6 separate regions of the Homo sapiens genome follow, and all the other regions are linked to region 3. Evidence: promoter capture Hi-C in 16 types of primary human blood cells and fetal thymus (Javierre and others, 2016). All regions are on one chromosome and are shown on one strand. The core of a region is centred on a gene start or on the middle of the fragment in contact, and the rest is flanking DNA. Distances in the headings are between cores, read along the strand shown.

What was found. Contacts are between HindIII fragments. The CHiCAGO score rates a contact against its expected background, and 5 or more counts as called.
Region 1: a contact is called between a fragment that was not itself captured here and the fragment with the promoter of MYBL2 in region 3, in 1 of 17 cell types (total CD4 T cells). The highest score is 5.1, in total CD4 T cells.
Region 2: a fragment that was not itself captured here is called in contact with the fragment with the promoter of MYBL2 in region 3 in 1 of 17 cell types (neutrophils); the score reaches 6.0 in neutrophils.
Region 4: a fragment that was not itself captured here is called in contact with the fragment with the promoter of MYBL2 in region 3 in 13 of 17 cell types (monocytes, M0 macrophages, naive CD8 T cells and 10 more); the score reaches 10.1 in monocytes.
Region 5: a contact is called between a fragment that was not itself captured here and the fragment with the promoter of MYBL2 in region 3, in 2 of 17 cell types (endothelial precursors and M1 macrophages). The highest score is 8.0, in endothelial precursors.
Region 6: a fragment that was not itself captured here is called in contact with the fragment with the promoter of MYBL2 in region 3 in 4 of 17 cell types (naive CD4 T cells, naive CD8 T cells, non-activated CD4 T cells and 1 more); the score reaches 7.3 in naive CD4 T cells.

Annotation. Positions count from the first base shown.
Region 1 is chr20:44,169,148-44,172,734 of GRCh38, forward strand. All of the region lies in intron 1 of JPH2 (junctophilin 2), which reads right to left. Among named protein-coding and RNA genes, the nearest start is that of JPH2, 16 kb to the right of the region's middle. The HindIII fragment of the contact is 6,904 bases long and covers 1-3,587 here.
Region 2 is chr20:43,992,648-43,996,095 of GRCh38, forward strand. The region is part of intron 2 of TOX2 (TOX high mobility group box family member 2); the gene reads left to right. Among named protein-coding and RNA genes, the nearest start is that of TOX2, 80 kb to the left of the region's middle. The HindIII fragment of the contact is 1,925 bases long and covers 1,000-2,924 here.
Region 3 is chr20:43,664,758-43,668,363 of GRCh38, forward strand. It overlaps MYBL2 (MYB proto-oncogene like 2), which reads left to right and starts at 2,357. Exons shown (of 14, transcript NM_002466.4): 1 at 2,357-2,546. The coding sequence starts at 2,527. RefSeq lists silencers at 2,152-2,446, 2,183-2,562 and enhancers at 2,152-2,446, 3,213-3,262. The HindIII fragment of the contact is 3,026 bases long and covers 322-3,347 here.
Region 4 is chr20:44,088,553-44,092,094 of GRCh38, forward strand. No RefSeq gene overlaps it. Among named protein-coding and RNA genes, the nearest start is that of JPH2, 97 kb to the right of the region's middle. RefSeq lists an enhancer at 1,437-1,731. The HindIII fragment of the contact is 7,388 bases long and covers 1-3,542 here.
Region 5 is chr20:44,106,534-44,109,781 of GRCh38, forward strand. It overlaps JPH2 (junctophilin 2), which reads right to left. Exons shown (of 6, transcript NM_020433.5): 6 at 57-3,248. Among named protein-coding and RNA genes, the nearest start is that of JPH2, 79 kb to the right of the region's middle. The HindIII fragment of the contact is 1,263 bases long and covers 1,160-2,422 here.
Region 6 is chr20:44,062,099-44,065,280 of GRCh38, forward strand. TOX2 (TOX high mobility group box family member 2) reads left to right here. Exons shown (of 9, transcript NM_001098797.2): 6 at 2,679-2,759. Among named protein-coding and RNA genes, the nearest start is that of JPH2, 120 kb to the right of the region's middle. The HindIII fragment of the contact is 7,560 bases long and covers 1-3,182 here.

The DNA of each region.
Region 1 (3,587 bases), core at 337-2,836, 500 kb after region 3:
CTTTGTAAATTACCTGGCCTTGGGTATTTTTTTTTTTTTTTTTTTTTGAGATAGAGTCTTTCTCTGTTGCCCAGGCTGGAGTGCAGTAGTGTGATCTTGGCTCACTGCAACCACCGCCTCCTGGGTTTAAGCAATTCTCCTGCCTCAGCCTCCCAAGTAGCTGGGACTACAGGTTCCTGCCACCATGCCCAGCTAATTTTTTGTAGTTTTAGTAGAGACGGGGTTTTTCACTGTATTGGCCAGGCTAGTCTCGAACTCCTGACCTCATGATCCGCCTGCCTTGGCCTCCCAAAGTGCTGGGATTACAGGCATGAGCCACCACGCCTGGCCCTCAGGTATTCTTTTACAGCAACACAAAATTGACTAAGACACCAAGGAAAAGCTGGGAGATCCAGAATCCAGTTTGAGACATCAAAGAGACATATGGGCCAGACCAGGATTCTGCCTCCAAATACAGAATGGACACTGAGAACACCATCCCATCTGGCCAGTGACACCTTCCTATTTCCAGGGAACTATCTGAGGTTGGAAGATCAGTGTGCCTCGGTGCTACGGTTTAATGTTTGTCCCCCTAAAAAGCTCAAATTGAAACTTAATCCCCAATGTGGCAGTATTGAGAGGTGGGGCCTTTAAGAGGTGATTAATCCACTCATGGATTCATGGTTTAATTGGTTATGGGAGTGGGGCTGGTGGCTTTATAAGAAGAGGAAGAGAGATCTGAGCTAGCACACTCGGCCCTCTCATCACATGACACCCTGTGCCACCTTGGGACTCTGCAGAGAGTCTCCACCAGTAAGAATGCCACTCCTGATATGACCCCTTGACCTTGGACTGCCTAGCCTCCAGAACTCTAGGAAATACATTTTGTTTCTTATAAACTACACAGTTTCAGGTATTCTGTTATAAGTAACAGAAAGCAGACTAACACACTGGAGAACTGAACAGAGATGGAGAGAAGGAACGAGGACTAGCTCCTTTCTAGGAGTCCCCATTGCCTATAGAAGTCCTTACCTGATAGTCCAGTTCCTTCATGACCTGGTTCCAAGTCACTTTCTCAGCCTTGTCTTCCCAAATCCTTCATAGCCCAGTTTCAAACCACCTCCTTCAGGGAACCACCTTCCTTCCTCCAAATTCTCATTGCCCAAGACATTTATCACTTCTTACTTCCCATGGCAGCTCTCTTGTCTTTATCTTGCCTGTTTTGTCTACCAGCCATCGCTGATCCTTCTCCAAGTCCTCTCACATAGTACCAGATGTTGGCATAAGATCTTTGGGTGGCCCATAGAAGTGTCATCAACAAATTTCAGACAGTGTTTAAGATGGAGCATGGCAGATACAGAGTGAGCATCAGAGAGTCCAGGGGTTAATGGCTCTTGTCCAAGCATACCAAGATCAGACCAGGTGAACCAGAAATGCTCACTGTGGTCAGCACACATGCCCATGCCACAGACACCACACAGATGCTCCTGATTATAAGGGACTCATAGCTTGGCTCTAACCCACCTTGATAAAGACTATGGACCCAGCATCCCAGAGAAAGTAAGCCAGGGCTAAGACAGCTTTGGAGGTAGCAAAGAATAATGGAAATCACATGGTCTTCAGATAGACCTGACTCTGAATATCTCTTTAATTTTGCTCAATATATTGTTAAAATGAATAGATAAGAAAGTATCCTAACAGATACAGGCATCATCATTTCGATGTTACAATTGGAAAAACTGAAACTAAGAATTTAAATGACTCTCATGATGACGCACTGCGATACTCCTTAATTCTCTTGGTCTCCACCCTATCTGTCTAGTCCAAGCCACATCCTTTTCTCCCTCGATGATGACAGTAGTATCCTCCCTGCCCCCCACTTCAGTTGACCCTTTGCTGCTGCCACTCATCTTCTTCATAAGATGCAACTCTCAGCAGGTTACTCCCCATCTCAAAACCCTGCAGTAACTTCCCAGTGCCTTGAGGAGTGTCTCAGGTCAGGATCCCTAGGGAAAAGATTCTGAAGCTGAGATGATGTGTGGGAGATTTAGCGGGGAGTGCTCTCAGGAAGAGCACGTGTAAGGAAGGAAGCAGGATTTGGCAGTGGAGGAAGCTGAACATCTGCAACAGAATATTCAACTGATCCCAGGGGGATTTAAGCTGGTATAGCCCTTCAGCGTTGCCCAAAATCAAAGCAAGGGGGCCAGGTCATTACAGTCATTAGATGTGAAGGAGGCAGCTCCCTTTGTTGGAGAGAAATACCCAGCCAGGATCTGTCAGCTGCTAACACTCCTGGCAGCTCGGGGAATGTGTCCCTGGTCCTAAGGAGTGTCTGAAGGGGTAGCCTAGAATCTACTAGAAGGATGAAGTTCAAGCTCCTCACTGTGACCCACAAAACCCTCATGATCTGGGCTTTGCCAATCTCTCCAGCCTCGTCCACCCCACTCTCTCTCTCTGAGTCTGTGCTCCAGCCTTTTCTGGAACACAGCATGCTCAGGTCCCACCTCCAAGCCTTTGCATTTGCTGTCCCTTCTGCCTGCCTGTGCGGCCTCCCCTGTCACCCAGTTTACCTCTATTCATCCTGCATATCTCAGCTCAAACATCACTTCCTCAAGGACGCCTTCTCTGATTATCAGACCAGACCAGGTTTCCCTGTTATCAGTTCATAAATTCTTCTATTTTTCCTTCAAAATATGTATCACATTTTGTATTTAAGTAATTGTTAGATGCCGGTCTCTGCTGTTAAGATACATGCACTTGGGGGCAGGGACAGGTCTGACTCGCCCACCACAGCATCCCCAGCACTCCATGCAGGGACTCACACATGGAAGACATTCAACAGATACTGTCAAATGCATTAATAAGCACAGGCTTTGAATAAGGTCTCTTTGAGTCTGTCTCCTCTCAGTAAAGTGAGCATAGCAAGTTTCCTTTGCAAGGTTGCTGTATTACATGGTTTATCTAGCAGAGATCTCGGGCTCTCAACAAAGGTTGGCTCCTTTCACTTCATGGGAAAAGACTGTAGGGTGACCAGTCATCCCAGTTTGCCTATGTCTGAGAGGTTTCCTGGGATGTGGAACTTTCAGTGCTAATACCGGGCAGTTTCAGGCAAATTGAGATGGCTGATCACCCTAAATTGGGGTGAGAAGGAAAAAGGGGCATTTCATATTAGTACAATAGTCAGGATATAGTAGCAAACCAGCTCTTTAGGACAAACCAACCAACCAACCTCAGTTTGTACTATTAGTCAGTTTCCACTGTGTAAATACCCCCACCATGACTGCAAAGTTCCTGAGCTCTCATGAGCCAGTAGGAGCTGGCTCTAGTAACCTGTATGTGTGTATATATAAATATTTTTTGTTTTGTTTTGTTTTGTTTCGTTTCGAGACAGAGTCTCACTCTGTAATCCAAGCTGGAGTGCAGTGGCACAATCACAGCTCATTGCAGCCTCAACCTCCTGGGCTAAAGTGATCCTCCCACCTCAGCCTCCCAAGTAACTGGGACCACAGGTGCATACCATCATGCTGGCTAATTTTATTTTTTGTAGAGATGTGGTCTCGCTATGTTGCCCAGGCTGCTCTTGAACTCCTGGACTCAAGCAATCCTCC
Region 2 (3,448 bases), core at 712-3,211, 330 kb after region 3:
CCAGAAATCATACATTAATACATTTAATGTTTTAACATAAATGTAAAGCCCTTGATATGGCAAAAGTTATAAATAAGATCAAGTGACAAATTGGGAGTAATATTTGTAGCATGTAACATGCAAACACATAGAATAAAACAATAGAAAAATGGCAGAGGTAATGCTGGTTTTAGAACATGAAACACATTCGTGTAGGGTTTACAAAAAAAAAAAAAAAAAGAAAAAATGGTGGAGGGCCAGATTTGGTCCACGGCCTGTGATTTGCTGATCCGAACTGATTTAGGAATGTTGACATGTCCAAAACTGAGCTCGTGGTCCTCCTTATACCCACCAAGCATGTTTTCCCCTCAGTATTCCTCCACCAGTGGCTCGAGATGGGAACCTGGGAGTGATGTTCGAGTCCCCGCTGAATGAGGAAGGCACGTGGCATGTCAGACACCATCCAGGCTGGCCATAGCGATGAGGGGGTGTCATAGGAGGTGAGACTGGAAGGAGACTGGGCCGGATCATGCAGGACTTTGCAGGCTACAGAGAGGGTTTCACACACACTGTATCCTGAGCGTAGAGGACATCAGCTAATGGGAGTATCACCATCAGTTTTGTGTGTGGAACCTCTACCCTGGCTGCTATGGAGAACAATTTGGAAGGAAAGAGATTAGAAGTTAGGAGATCATTGAGGAGGTGATTACAGCAGTCCTTGTGGGAGGTGATGACCGCTTGGACTAGGATGGTTGCTCTGCAGATGGATTGTGGTGGGAAGATTTGAGATACATGGGGAGGTGGGGCTGACAGGACTTTGTGATTGATTGGAGATGGGGATGAGAGAGGGAGGAATTGAACATCTCTCCCAGGTACCCAGCTTGAGCCACCGGTAGAGGAATACTGAGGGGGAAATGGACTTGGTGGGTACAAGGATGACCACAAGCTCAGTTCTGGACGTGTCAAAGAAATCATGGCCCTTGGACCAAATCTGACCCTCCACCTGTTTTGTGTAAATAAAGCTTTACTGGAACATGGGATCCTCCTAAGTTTAAATATTGCCTGTGGCTACTTTCATGCTATAGCAATAGAGTTGAATAGTTCTGACAGAGACCATATGACTCACAAAGCCAAAAATACATATTATCTGCAGAAAAAGTTTGCTGGGCTTTTGTGTAGGACATCCAAGGGAAGTAAAGTATCAAAGAGGCAGTTGGATATGTAGCTATAAAAATGTAATTTGAGGCTGGGCACAGTAGCTCACGCGTGTAATCCCAGCACTTCGGAATGGAAAGCAGGGAGGATTGCTTGAGGCCAGGAGTTTGAGACCAGTCTGGGCAATATAGCAAGACCCGGTCTCTACAAAAAAATAAAAAATAGTAGGACATGGTGGCACACGCCTGTAGTCCCAGCTCCTTGGGTGTCTCAGGTGGAAGATCGCTTGAATCCGGGAGATTGAGGCTGCAGTGAGCTGTGATCATGCCACTGTGCTCCAGCCTGGGCAACAGAGCAAGACCCTGTCTCGAAAAAGAAAATTCAATTAAAAAAACAAAAACAGTTTGGCACGGTGGCTCATGCCTATACTCCCAGCACTTTGGGAGGCCAAGGTGGGTAGATCGCTTGAGCTCAGGAGTTTGAGACCAGCCTGGGCAGCATGGCAAAAACCCATCTCTACAAAAAAAATTAACCAGGTGTGTTGGCTCGTGCCTGTAGTCCCAGCTATTCAGGAGGCTGAGGTGGGAGGATAGCTTGAGCCCAGGAGTCAGAGGCTGCAGTGAGCCAAGATCATGCTATTGCACTCTAGCCTGGGTGACAGAGCCAGACCCTGTCTCCAAAAAAAAAAAAAAAGACTACCACTTATTGGAAAACTGAGCTTCCTTATCTGTAAAATGGGGCCAGTGCCTGCTTCAGGCTGCCTCTTCTCATTCAGATGCTGTTGCCCACAAGTTATCCCCAGCCTTGCGACTTTTGCTACTTAAGTTCTGCTGGGACTGCTGCTTCCTAAAGAAAAGGACCCCCAAACCCACCCACCAATCATGTATCTTTCCAGAGCCTCCCCGTCCCTGCCCGGTGAATCACCCAGGATGCTGCTGAAACCTTAGCTTGAGTCAGATTGTGTCCTGAGCGAGAACACATGGGGATTATCATGTTTGTTCCCAGATAGGGTTTTAGTCAACAAAACTCCTGTCTAATGTGACTGCCTGTCATTGTCCCACTATGATGCCTCTGTCTGCCCTGATCCAAGCATTTCGGGGTCAGGAACAGCCACAGAGCAGCCGTGGCTGGCAGCGTGGCACACTGCCGGTGGGAGGGTGTTAGATGCACTCCTGTGTGAGTGGCCTGGCTCGGCTTGGAGGTTCTGCCTGTAGATAAAGGCTGAGAAAAGATATTACATTCCCCTCCCCCACCTCCTCCAGAATCCACGCTTCATTTTACCGGTATGGCTTTTCTCTCCTGTTTGGCTTATATATGGTATGGACTTTTAGTTTTTTATTTTTTAAGAAGCATTTTTAGTCCAGGAAAATGACAGGCCAAGCAAAAGGCATAATTGTCCTGATTTTCAGAAGTGCTACAATACTCCAGATCTGATGTATGGTGAGACTCGAATCAGAAAGATTCTATTAAACATGTCTGGGGTGGGTGACATAGGGGTATTATCTGAGATGATTAATTTGACTCGGTCATTATGGACACAGACAAGCCTGACAAAATTGCATTTCATTCCCCGCAGAATTCATAAAATCACTATACCCGTGATAAGAAGTTACAGTGCTAGGAGCTCAGCTCCAGTTGTTGGGGTTTGGAGTTTTGATAAGATGTCATTTTCTGTTGTGAAAACAGAGTTGAGAAACACTGAATCGCACTACAGTCTTTTAGCAGAGATGGCTTTTTTTAAACTTTTATTTTAGGTTCAGGGGTACGTGTGAAGGTTTGTTATATAGGTAAGCTTGTGTCGTGGGGATTTGATGTACGGATTATTTTGTCACCCAGGTATTCAGCCTAGTACCCATTAGTTATTTTTTCTGCTCCTCTCCCTCCTCCCACCCTCAAGTAGAACCCAGTGTCTGTTTTTCCTTTTCTTGTGTTGATGAGTTCTTATCACTTAGCTCTCACTTGTGAGTGAGAACATGTGGTATTTGCTTTTCTGTTCCTGCATTAGTTTACTAAGGATAATGGCCTCCAGCTCCATCCATGTTCCTACAGAAGACATGATGTCATTCTTTTTTATGACTGCATAGTATTCCATGGTGTATATGTACCACATACAACATTTTCTTTATCCAATCTGTCCTTGATGGTCATTCAGGTTGATTCCATGTTTGTTGTGAATAGTCCTGCAATGAACATTTGTGTACACATGTCTTTATGGAAGAATGATTTATATTCTTCTGGGTATATATCCAGTAATGGGATTGCTGGGTTGAATGGTAGTTCTGCTTTTTGTTCTTTGAGTGATTGCTATATTGCT
Region 3 (3,606 bases), core at 1,107-3,606:
CAGGCATGCTGGCGCATTCCTGTAGTCCTAGCTACTCGAGAGGCTGAGGTGGGAGAATCATTTGAATCCGGGAAGTGGGGGTTGCAGTGAGCCAAGATCACACCACTGCACTCCAGTCTGGGCAATAAAGCAAGACTTGGTCTAAAAAAAAAAAAAAAGTTAAGTAATTTGCCTAAGATACCGCAACTGAATGGTGGAGCTGGGACTCAAACCCCAGGAAGTTTGGCTGTGGAGGCTGTGCTTTCAATGAAGTGGGCATGTCCACATTAATTACTTTATAAGGGGAGTGGGCGGGAGAAACCCTGAATTAAGTGATGTGGAAGCTTCTAGCACTTAAGATGTGAGTTAGTCTTCCTTCTGTGGTAAGTGAAGTTTGCAGCAGCTGGTGGCTGGACTGTCCCCAGGTGGCCAGCAGCTTCTGGAAGGGGGCTCTGAGGCCTGAACAGGGGCTAAAAGGCTGGGGTTTGATTTGGTTTCTTCAGCGTCCTGTCTCAGAGCTCATTTATCTTCCTCTCAGCACTGCTCCCAGGAAGTCCAGTGTGACTTGATCCTTGGTACTTGGTAAATGTCAATCTAATATAGAAAACCTTTGCTAAATCTCAAGGAAAGACAGTCTCACTGTCTGTCGCCCAGGCTGGAGTGCAGTGGCGGGATGACAAGGGCTTGAGCCCCTCGAACTCCTGGGCTCAAGCAATCCTCCTGCCTCTGCTTCCCAAGTAGCTGGGATTACAGGCATTCACCACCACAGCCAGGTAATTTCTTAATTTTTTGTAAAGACAGGGTCTCACTCTGATCCCCAGGCTGGTCTCAAACTTTTGGACTGAATCAGTTCTCCCACCTCGGCCTCCCAAACTGCTAGGATTACTGGCATGAGCCACTAAATCTGGGCTAATCTCTGGGAGTTTAAACCCAAGGTAAACAATTCAATGCAACAAACCTTTGCCTGGGGCTTCTTATGTCAGGTCTTCTACTGGGCCCTGGAGATACTGGTGTGCATTGAGAGGCCACCTGGACCTCAGGATGCTCCCAGTTCAAAGGGGGAAATGCAGAAGTCTACAGGCAGATTGTGGGCAGTGGACCCCAAATTAAATAGGAATCAGCCACGTGGGAGGGGCAGGAAGTGTTCCTGCCCTGGGTAATGGCTCAGGCAAAGGCAAAGAGGCCGTTTCTTTTGGCCAGGGCTGGGTGGTGGTCTGGAAGATCAGATAAATGTGATTGTGGAGTAAGGAATTTACCCTGAGGGAGAGGAGGATGGTTTTAAATTCTGGAAAGAGCTCACGCCTGCAATCCCAGCACTTTGGGAGGACAAAGCGGCAGGATCTCTTGAGCCCAGGAGTTTCTAGACCAGTCTAGGCAACAGCAACATAGCAAGACACCCCCTTCTCTTAAAAAAAAAAAAAAAAGCGCAGTGGCTCACTCCTGTAATTCCAGCACTTTGGGAGGCCGAGGCGGGCGGATCACGAGGTCAGGAGACCTATACCATCCTGGCCAACATGGTGAAACCTCGTCTCTACTAAAATACTAAAAAAAAAAAAAAAAAAAAAAAAAAATTGCCGGGCGTGGTGGTGTGCGCCTGTAGTTCCAGCTACTTGGGAGGCTGAGGCGGGGGAGTCGCTTGAACCCGGGAGGTGGAGGTTGCAGTGAGTCAAGATCGCGCCACTGCACTCCAGCCTGGCGACAAAGCGAGACACCGTCTCAAAAAAAAAAAAAAAAAAAATCAGCCGGGTGTAGTGGCGAGTGCCTGGTCTTAGCTACCCGTGAGTTGAGGTAGGAGGATCGCTTGAGCCTAGGAGGTGGAGGTTGCAGTGAGCTATGATCGCGAAACTGCACTCCAGCCTGGGCGACAGAGCAAGACCCTGCCTCTAAGAAAAATGAACAACAAAAAATAAAGTCTATTAAGGAGGGTCTCTTGGAGGCAGGAGAGGAAGCAGGGAGAGGCACAGGTAGGGTGAGGAGCCGCTTTAGGGTGCGGCTCTAGGGACCCAGTAGTGGCTTGGACTAGCGTGGGGGATTCCGCCCTGGCGCTTTCCCTGGCTGGCTCTCCCATGCTCGCGCCTCGCTCCCCTTCCTCGGTCTTCGCTATGTGGGATACTCCTGGGCCGCCCCGGACTGACACGTGAGCCAGGCCTCGGTCACATCCCGGCCCGCTCCACAACTCCGAAGTAGCGGCCGCCGCCCCTGTCCTGCAGCCGGCCCTGGAGGGTCTGGGCAGGTGCCGCCCCGCAGGCCCCGCCCCGCCCCGCCCCCTGGCTCCGCCCCTCACTCAGGCCCCTCCCCCGGCGCCCGCGCGCCAGGACTGGGCGGCGCCGACGCGCTTGGCGGGAGATAGAAAAGTGCTTCAACCCGCGCCGGCGGCGACTGCAGTTCCTGCGAGCGAGGAGCGCGGGACCTGCTGACACGCTGACGCCTTCGAGCGCGGCCCGGGGCCCGGAGCGGCCGGAGCAGCCCGGGTCCTGACCCCGGCCCGGCTCCCGCTCCGGGCTCTGCCGGCGGGCGGGCGAGCGCGGCGCGGTCCGGGCCGGGGGGATGTCTCGGCGGACGCGCTGGTGAGACGAGCCGGGAGGGCTTGGGCCCCTCCCCCTCCCTTTAACTCACCCCTCCCCCACCCAGATACCCCCGACCCTCCCCAGGCTCCCACCAAGCTGGGGTGTGTGTGTGTGTTGGGGGTGGGGTGTTTCCGCGGAAATGCTGCGTCCTGGGCCCTCTGAGGCAGGGGCGCGCGTAAAGCTGGGGGGCTCTTGGGCGTCCCTCGCGGCTCCCCAGGCCTGTTGGGCCTCGGAGCTGGGACGGGCGGGTCTCTTGGGACCCGGGCCAAGCCGTGCATGATGTCATTTTGTCTCCCGCCTAATTGCGGGATGGGGGTGGGCCGGCCGGTGTCAGCTGGCAGGGCCTTCGCCGGCGAGGGAGGCGACCCCTGGGAGCGAGAGGGAGTCTTCAAGTCCCAGCCAGTGGGAGACCGAGCCTGGGAGGCACTTGTTGCAGCCTAGTTTTGGGTCAACTTGGTGGGTGGGCTTTGCTCCTTAACATTCCGGGGAGCACAGAGTCCCCCAAGCCCTCTCCCCTGGACTGAGAAGGGTGCTGAGTTGGGGGCTCTTTTGTCTCTCCCACCTGGGTTCCGCGCCCCAGCTTGGTTCGGTTTGAGACCTCTCTTCCTGTTCCCACGAGGAGTTTTGGGCAGCTGGGGTTGAAGGTGCGGGGGAGAGAGAGAGTCCCTGGGGCAAAGGCAGGAACTGCGGTCTCCATTTTACTTATTTCCCCAGAGACTTAAGTGGCAGAGCTGAGCCCGGAGCCAGGTCTGTGGCTCCAGATCCCTGTCTTACACCTGTGCGCCTGGGGCCTGAGCTCCAAGCTTTTCAGCCTGCCTGGGAGACAGGACAGTGGGGTCCTGACCTCTTCCCTGCCTGGATCGCTGCAGCTCAGATAACCTTCGTTCCCTCTTTTTTTTTTTTTTTTTTTTTTTTGAGAAGGAGTCTCGCTCTGATGCCCAGGCTGGAGTGCAGTGGCGCGATCTTGGCTCACTGCAACCTCCGCCTCCCAGGTTCAAGCGATTCTCCTGCCTCAGCTTCCCGAGTAGCTGGGACTTCAGGCACGTGTCACCACGTCGGG
Region 4 (3,542 bases), core at 975-3,474, 420 kb after region 3:
ACCTGGGCTGGGCTGTCTTTTGGGGTATCTCAGATGTGGTACAATTGGGGCACACACACAGAGACTCCATTCACCCCGGGCAGATTTCCTGAGCCTGGGGGACTGGCTTACAATGAATCCCAGGCTTCTGTTGTCCCTTGCTGCCTGTCTGTAAGTAATAAACCCATTTCATTTCATGTAACTTGTGTACGTGGGTGTTCTATCTCACCAGATTCAGGCAAGCTGCTCACCAGCACACAGAAACTCTGCTCCACAACCTGGGATCTAGTTGAAACTCCGGCACTAGTGCCAATTTGAGAGGGCTCAATGTCTGGGTAAAAATACACTTCTACCCCTGTCCTTCAGTTTCCCCATCTATAAAAGAGATGGTATGCCTGTAATCCCAGCACCTTGGGAGGCCGAGGTGGATGGATCACTTGAGACCAGGAGTTCAGGACCAGCCTGGCCAACATGGCAAAACCTCATCCCTACTAAAAATACAAAAATTAGCCAGGTGTGGTAGTGCATGCCTGTGGTACAGGTAACCCATAAAGTCACTTCCAAACCTCACATTCTATAAAGCTGTGATTCCCAGAGGCTGAGAGCTCACCACCACCTTTTTTGTACTTTCATTTTAAATATTTAAATCTTCAATCCATTTGCGAGTGACTTTAGTGCAAAGTATGAGCCATGGATCTAAGTTTACTTTTTCCCCAAATGGTTGCCCAGTTGTCTCTTTGCTATGTATTAAAGGTTCCATTTCACCTTTTTGAGTGACACTCCTTTAATTAGAAAATTGGGTCCATTTCTGGATTTTAAAAATCTTATTCCATTGATCCATTGATTTTAGTGTAGATTTTTAATACAATGAAGTATTTTTGTGGGTGAAGCAACCTCTAGTTTCTTTCTGAAATATTTTAGATGTATAAACAGTACAGAGAGAATATAACTAGCACCTAGGCAACCTCCACCAATCTTAAACTTCAGTCAGAACTCAACTCCCCACACACAGTTATAGTCAAAGTTCCCATGTGCTTCATTCTGCCAGTTTCCATCCTCCTCTGAAAGTAGCTGCTTCGAGTTTGTTTTTTTAATCATTTCCATTATTTAAACACAAATGTAAATATCCACGATATATAATATTGCTTTATGTGTTTTAGAATTTTATGTAAATTTCTCATACTATAAATATCATTTTCCACTTACAGGTTTTTGAGATATATGTAATGTTGGTATATGTAGCTTCTTATTCTCATGGCTCTAAGAATTAAATGAGATAATCCTTGTATGCAATTAGAAGTGTCTGGAATGTGATAAACAAGGTTAGCTGTCATTATCAATGTCACTAATCATTATTTTTATTATCACCATTCCCACCAAAGGGATCAGAGGTTCACACATGACATTGTTGAGGAGCAGCAAAATGGAGCCACGATTTCTTTTAGGATAACAGGAGCCATTTTCCCTGCTCTGAGGTATGTTTGGATGGAAACATTGGGCTCCTTGTCAGCTGTTCCCTGGTGCTGTGCACAGCTTGCAGGAACGGCTCTGATTTTGTTTAATGACTCTGACAAGAACGCCAGACTTGGCCATGTGACTTGCTCTAGCCAATGAGACAGCAGCAAACATTATGCAAGCAGAAACTTGAAAAGTGCTTGCTCATTGGCCTTGCCCTCTCACTGCTCTTGGTCAGACCCATCACCATGAGAACAAGCCCATGCTAGCCTGTTGGATGATGAGAGACCCTGCAGAGAAAAGGAAGGTGCCCCAGCTGACATCAGAAAGCCCTGTGCCCATCCAGCAGCCAACTTCAGATGTACGAGTGAGTTCCAGCTGAGATAAACCAAACTTGGCGAAATCGCAGAACTGCCCACATGAACCTACCCCAAACTGCCATCCCACAGAGCTGTGAGCTCAATAAATAGTTGTTGTATTAAGTCACAGAGTCTGGGGTGGTTTGTTGTGCTGCATAAGCTAGCTGATACACCTGGTTATCTGACATCTCCAGCAATTACTGACCTGTATTTGCAGACTTAACTCTTGGTTACATGACCAGAAAACAATATTCCACGTGCATGAACCACAATCCACAAGAGACAGGCTCCCTTTCAGAAACATCAAACGATGTTCAACATTTGGCAGGTCTGAAAAGCTCTCATCCATACCATGAGTGTATAAAACATGCCTTGACCCATGATAATCACCAAGGGGCACTTTCTGGGGGTTGGTGCTATCCCCCCCAAATAGCAGACTCTTCCCAAGGGAATCACAGGTGATGTATAGGTGTTTCTAACTGGTCCTAATCCCAAATCCATGTCTGAAACCTCACCTTATACCTACATATTAACTTCATGGGTGCAAACACCACACCTGGTCATACCAGAAACCAGAGTTCCCAAAAAGGGTAAATGTCCTTCTGTACACAGCAAAGGCATGTTGGGCCATGCCTAGAGGAAAAGGAGGCAGAGGCTGCAGAGCTGGAAGCTCAGCTGTTTTGAGGCCCTGGGCTGACAGATCTTTGTCCACAGCCTTGCCAGGAAATGCCCCACAGTCCCACATTTGGAAGTGAACAAGCTGGAAGGGTGATTTTCCAACTGGACACAGCTGGTGACGATCAAGATAGTGACCCTGGATAACTGCCCTCAGACTCTGCAAGGCCAATTCTCACCATAGGTGGAGTTATTTGCCTGCATAAGCGATGGTCAGGCCCTCTCTCCTGCCCCCAGACACAGAGGAGGGACCATGCGCTTCCTGACATTGTGGCTTCAAATGCCACAACCACAAGGGCCATCCACTTAGGGACAACATTGGTGTCTGCCTCAGGAAGTCCCTTCCCACTCCACCTGCCTGGGAACACGCCCTCTGATGTGACAGCTTCTGGACTCATGTTATAAACAAGTCCTTTTTTAAGGGCCTGAAACATTGGAATAGAACCACCACCAACCCTGGAAAAAAAATGCAAATCCAAAATACCAAGTACTATACAAAGGTGCTCTAATTATTCTTGGTTCAAAATGATTCACAAGAGGAAAGGGAACCGACTCCGTATGTACGCGTGTCTATCTGAGAAAGAATAAGAGACGCTTTCTCTATGCGCATGCTTCCCAAAAATTAATGAATGAAATCTCTCATCCTAGTCCTTTACAGATTTATCTAAGGTTTCTTCCTGTGTTTGAATTCCTCTATTAGAAAAAAATTAATCAAAGCAATACATCCCTATGGCTAGAAATTAAATATTTACGGACCTATTATAGAAAGCAGTAATTTGCCACCCCCTCTCTCCACACCAACGCAACTCTCACAGTGTAATTCCTGATGACTACCTAGTATAACTCTAAGTAATATATTTATACCATTCTTTCTTGATTTATCAGCTCTGACATTACTTCTTCCCAAATTCCTCTAAAGGTTTTGAAAGATTACTTTGATTCCACCCCCCCCTTAGAAACATCACACCTTTAAACAATGCACTTAAACCTCAATTAATTGAGCTTTTCTATTATAACTTTTGTCTCCCTACTGCTATTGATGAACTTAACTCCCTTCTACCTCCCCACCCTTCT
Region 5 (3,248 bases), core at 541-3,040, 440 kb after region 3:
CCAGTTTATTAGTTCGTTTTCATGCTGCTGATAAAGACATACCTGAGACTGGGCAATTTATAAAAGAAAGGTTTAATGGGACTCACAGTTCCAAGTGGCTAGGGAAGCCTCACAATCATGGTGGAAGACAAGGAGGAGCAAGTCACATCTTACTAGATGGCAGCAGGCAAAGAGAGGAACTTGTGCAGAGTAACTCCTCTTTTTAAAATCATCGATCTCATGAGACTTATTCACTACCACGAGAACGGCACGGGAAAGGCTTGCCCCCATGATTCAATTACCTCCCACTGGGTCCCTCCCACAACGTGTGGGTGGGAATTTAAGATGAGATTTGGGTGAGAACACAGCCAAACCATATCACCCAGTAACAGAGCAAGGGAGGGGTATAAAAGCCCAATGGGAGATGCTCTACAAGCAATCCTTGCTCTGGAGCTCCCACTGGGTTGGACTTTGTCAGGCCTGCATCAAGTTAGACTTCTTCCTCTGCCCTGTTCTGCATTTTCCTCCTTCCTTTCACAGGTTTTGATCCCTAATAAACATCTTGCAGCTTAGGTGACTCTCAGTGTCTGCTCCTGCAGAATCCAATCAGTGATGGCATCTTCCACATACAGCAAAGAAGTGATATAGCCAGGATTAGAAACTAGGTCTGTCCAATTCCAAAGCCCCAACCCATCCCCACTCCCCAACCATACTGCCTCTTATGGCCACCATATCCATTTCCTCAATAAGCACTCACTGAATGTCTACTCTGCCCCGAGACCTAAGTGGGACAATGGGGATGGTACTACAGGCTGTACTGTCTTGTCTGTTTACCAAAACCCACATCCTTCTCTTCTCCCTGAGGACACATGTAGTCCGTATTTCCCAGCCTCCCTTGAAGCTAGTTGAGGCCAAACAACTGAGCTCTGGCTAGTGGAATATGAGCAGAAGTGATGTGTGCTGTTTTCCTGGTGAAAGTTTTTAGGAAGCAAATTCCATCCTCCATACTCTCTTTCCTTTTCCTTTGGCAGATGCAGAGACCAAAAAAGCCCTAGGATATGTAGAACCACAGATGGAAAAAACCTGGGTCCCTGAATCATTATGATGAGGGACAGCTATTCTATGACAAACTTATATGGTGTATAGCAATTATAAACTGTGGAGTCAATTACCTCAGCCAAGCTTACACTAACTAATGCATGGATATAGAGATGAATCACAGATAGCCCCTCTCTTAAGGAACTCAGTCTAGTGGAGAAGCTGTGGATAGGAAGAGATACAGGGTTGTGTAGTTAGCAACTGGGCCTTGAGGGAGAGGTCTGATTTTTGTCCTGGCTCCTAGGAAGTAATTTCTAAACCCTTAGGATATCCTGATTAACAGGAGTGTCTTTGTTATTCATGGTGGGCTCCTGGGACCACAACTCACAGCTTATGCTAACCAGATGGCTTATAGTGAGTGCTGGCCATGCCAGAAAAATCAACCACAGGGTTAAAAGATTGGGGCTTTGGGCTATGTGATGTCAGCCTGACCTTTGGGTGTGGGGAGGGGTATGGAGGTTAAGTTCAACCATGTGGGAAATGATTCAATCAATCACCTCTACATAATGAAGTCCCAATAAAAACTCTGGACACTGAAGCACTGGTTAGCTTCCCTGGTTGGCCATACTTTGTCATACTGTTACTTATCAATGCTGGCAAGGTAACAGATACCGAGGACACGGGTGTTTAGCATTTGGAACCCTCCCAGATTCCTTCCTATGTCCCTTTCCCTTGGCTGGTTCTGATTCGCATTCTTTGCTTGTAATCAATGTGACTTGAGTAGAATAGCTTTCAGTGAGTTCTGTGAGTCTTTCTAGTGAATTATTGAGTATGAGGATAATCATAGGAACCCCCTTGTTTGTAGCCAGTCAGTATGAACTGATGGTGGCCCTGGAGATCCCCAAACTTGTATCTGGGGTCTGAAGGGAGAGGGGGAGATTGTTCCCTCAGACTTTGCTGACTTTACAGCCTCAAGATTGCTGACTTTACAGCCTCAAGATGTAAATAGCTTTAAAAGGTCACTAAGAAGTGACTGTATACCATTGCACTCCAGCCTGGGTGACAGAATGAGACTCTGTCTCAAAAAAAAAAAAAAAGAAAAGAGGAAGAAGAAGTGACTGTAATGTAGGCACCTGGTCAAGACAGCCTGGAGTGAATGGTGAATGTTCTGACACATGAGGTGCCCTGGCATCTGTTGCCGTACATGAGGGTCTCACCTGCAGTTGGTCTGTGGACAAAATATGACTCCCCGCTCAGTCCAGGCTCTGTCACTGACTTGCTGTGTGATCCTTACAAATCACGACACTCTCTCCAGACCTGTTTCCCCATATGAAAAACAGGGGGCCAGATGAGCTGATATCTTAGAGTGCCTCCATCTCTGACAACCTAAGGAGTTATTTCCTCAAGCTTCTTCAGAGAAGAAGGAAACTTCCTTCCCTGAACTCCTTCAGGAATTCTGAATCATCACATCCACTAATATCCAATAGACAAATGTCCCCTGCCACATCCCTGTTGACTAGCATCTCCCCTCAGCTGGCTCATCTGCAGTGATGGGAAGCTCACTCTTTCATGGTGGGAGCAGTGTGGTTCTGTAAAAGAGCACAGCTCTGGGTTTCAGTCCCAGCTCTGTCCTTCCCTCTCTGTGATACCTTGAACCAATCACTCCATCTCCCCAAGGCTCAATTTTCCTCATCTGCAAAATGGGTGGACGAATACCTACACCATGGAGATACTGCGAAGAATGGAAAATAGCAGTGCATTTACCATCTGCTCACACCATGCTGGGAATTGTTCTAAGTGCTGTGTTCATATTTTCTATCTGAAGAGGCAGGTAACATGGTATTCATCACCCCCAGAAAAGTAAGAAAGTTCTAGATGTTAAGGGACAGAGCCAAGATTTGAACCAGCAACCATGTTCTGAACCACACAGCTGTTCTGCCACCACATACAGGAGGTGAAGGGCTTAGCACAGGGCCTGACCTACGGCCACCTGACTCCATTGAGTGTACCAGCAAGACAGGCTGAGAGAGTGAGGGAGTGGGAACTGGCCTCCATAGGCATAGTCAGAGTTTTGCACAAAACAAGAACCTAAGAGCTATTTTAATTTCAGCATACATGCAAGTTTTATGTTTTACAGTTTAGGTATTATTTGTATTCTGAGTCACTTATTTGGGGGAGAGCATCTTCATATCAGTTTTTCAGGCATGGCACCTCCAAAGGTCATCATCTGG
Region 6 (3,182 bases), core at 102-2,601, 400 kb after region 3:
TGGAAGTCCTGGCCAGAGCAATCAGACAAGAGAAAGAAATAAAGGGCACCAAATCAGTAAAGAGGAAGTCAAACTGTCACTGTTTGCTGATGGGATTATCATATACCTAGAAAACCCTAAAGACTCATCCAAAAAGCTCCTAGAACTGGTAAATGAATTCAGCAAAGTTTCAAGATACAAAATTAATGTACACAAATCAATAGATCTGCTATACACCAACAGTGACCAAGCTGAGAATCACATCAAGAACTCAACCCCCTTTAACTGCAAAATAAATAAATAAATAAATAAATAAATAAATAAATAAATGAATAAATAAAATACTTAGGAATATACCTAACCAAGGAGGTGGAAGACCTCTACAAGGAAAACTACAAAACACTGCTGAAAGAAATCGTAGATGAAACAAATGGAAACACATCCCATGCTCATGGATGGGTAGAATCAATAGTGTGAAAATGACCATACTGCCAAAAGCAATCTATAAATTAAATGCAATTCCCATCAAAACACCACCAACATTCTTCACAGAACTAGAAAAAACAATCCTAAAATTCATGTGGAATCAAAAAAGAGCCCTCATAGCCAAAGCATGACTAAGCAAAAAGAACAAATCTGGAGGCATCACATTACCCGACTTCAAACTATATGGCCATAGTCACCAAAACAGCATGGTACTGGTATAAAAATAGGCATATAGACCATGGAAAAGATTAGAGAACCCAGATATAAAGCCAAATCCTTACAACCAACTGATCTTTAACAAAGCAAACAATAACATGAAGTGGGGAAAGGACACCTTATTCAACAAATGGTGCTTGGATAATTGGCAAGCCACATGTAGAAGAGTGAAACTGGATCCTCATCTCTCACCTTATACAAAAATCAACTCAAAATGGATGGAAGACTTAAATCTAAGACCTGAAACCCTAAAAATTCTAGAAGATAACACTGGAAAAACCCTTCCACAGACATTGGCTTAGGCAAAGACTTCATGACCAAGAACCCAAAAGCAAATGCAACAAAAACAAAGGTAAATAGATGGGACTTAATTAAACTAAAAAGCTGCACAGCAAAAGAACCAGCAGGGTAAACAGACAACCCACAGAGTGGGAGAAAATCTTCACAATCTATACTTTCGACAAAGGACTAATATCCAGAATCTACAAAGGAACTCAAATCAGCAAGAAAAAAACAATCCCATCAAAAATTGGGCTAAGGAGATGAATAGAGAATTCTCAAAAGAAAATATACAAATGGCCAACAAACATATTAAAAAATACTTAACATCATTATGATCAGGGAAATGCAAATCAAAACCACCTTACTCCTGCAAGAATGTCCATAATCAAAAAATAGATGTTGGCATGGATGTGGCAAAAAGGGAACACTTTTACACTGTTGGTGGGAATATAAACTAGTACATCCACTGTGAAAAACAGTGTGGAAATTCCCCAAAGAACTAAAAGTAGATCTACTGTTTGACCCAGCAATCCCACTGCTTGGTATCCACCCAGAGGAGAAGAAATTTTACAAAAAAGATACTTGCACATGTTTGTAGCAGCCCAATTTGCAATTGCAAAAATATGGAACCAGCCCAAATGCCCATCAATCAATGAGTAAAGAAAATGTGCTACATATATATACACACATATATATGTACACACACACACATATACATATATATGTACACACACACACACACAAACACCATGAAATACTACTCAGCCATAAAAAGGAAGGAAATAATGGCATTTGCAGCAACCTGGATGGAATTGGAGACAATTATTCTAAGTGAAGTAACTCAGGAATGGAAAACCAAACATTGTATGTTCTCATAAGTGGGAACTAAGCTATGAGGACACAAAGGCATAAGAATGATACAATGGACTTTGGGGACTTGGGGAAAAGGATGGTAGTGAAGGATAAAAGACTATCATCAGGTACAGTGTACACTGCTCAGGTGGTAGGTTCACCAACATCTCAGAAATCACCATTAAAGAACTTATTCATATACAAAAAAAATTTTTAAATAAGAGTTCCAAGAGTAGCAAGAGGGCTCACCAATATGTGATCACTTTGTCAGTCTCTGCATGCATCACATTTGTGCTTGTCTTATTGGCCAACACAAGTCACACAAGGCTAAGCTCCAAGTCATTTGCACCTCCTCGTTTCTACCAAAAGCCATGGAAACAAGGAGGTGCGAACAAACTGGGACCAGTCCTACAATAACATATGAACCTAGGTCTAAAATTTTTAATAAAAAATATTAGCAAACCGAATCCAAACTAACATACTATGAACAAGTAGGTTCATTCTAGGTTGCGAAGGTGGTTCGGCATTAAGAAATCTGCACTGTGCTGGCTCAGAATGGGGGCTTCAAAGGGCATTGTCTTTCTGTGATCAGTTGTGCTGATAGAACCTGGAGGCCCAGAGAGATGAAGCATGTTGGCCAAGGCCACACAGTGACTTGGCTGAGGAACTGGGATATGGCCTGGTCTCCACAATTTCTCTGCAGCGCTCCCAGAAAGGGGCCAGTGGCTGGCTGACTCAGCTTCTGACCCCACCACCCTCGTCCATTCGTGATCCTTGAATCCATGCCTTCCCACCCCAGGACCCTGCACGGCATCTCCTCTGTAACTTTCTCCCCAGTGTTGCTCATGTGTTGACTCTTCCAGGCCTACAAGAGGAAGACAGAAGCAGCAAAGAAGGAATATCTGAAGGCCCTGGCAGCCTACCGGGCTAGCCTCGTCTCCAAGGTAACACCCGGAATCTCCAGGCACAGCCCTGATCAGAGTGGGGCCACTTGAGGAATGGAGCAAGAACTGGGGCCCGTGGGAAGGGCCGGCACCCCAGGTCTTAGAAAGAATGGCTCAGACCTACATGGTCATGTCTGCAGGGCACCTACAGCATGCCAGGCTCATTCTGGGCACTTTACATGCATTTCATTGGCTTCTTCCAACAAGAACCCAGCACCCAGAGGGGTTGAGCAACTTGCCTGAAAAGATCCAGTTTGTTAAAGTGGCCGCACTAGGATTCAAACCCAGTTTTGCCAGTTTTATGTGGCCTTCACTTCTGACCGCTGATGGGGCTTGGGACACGCTACCCCAAAATATGGCACCTCCTCACCACACCGTCGGCCTCCTCTGTCAACACCAGCAACGTAGGAAGCTAAGTGTGGC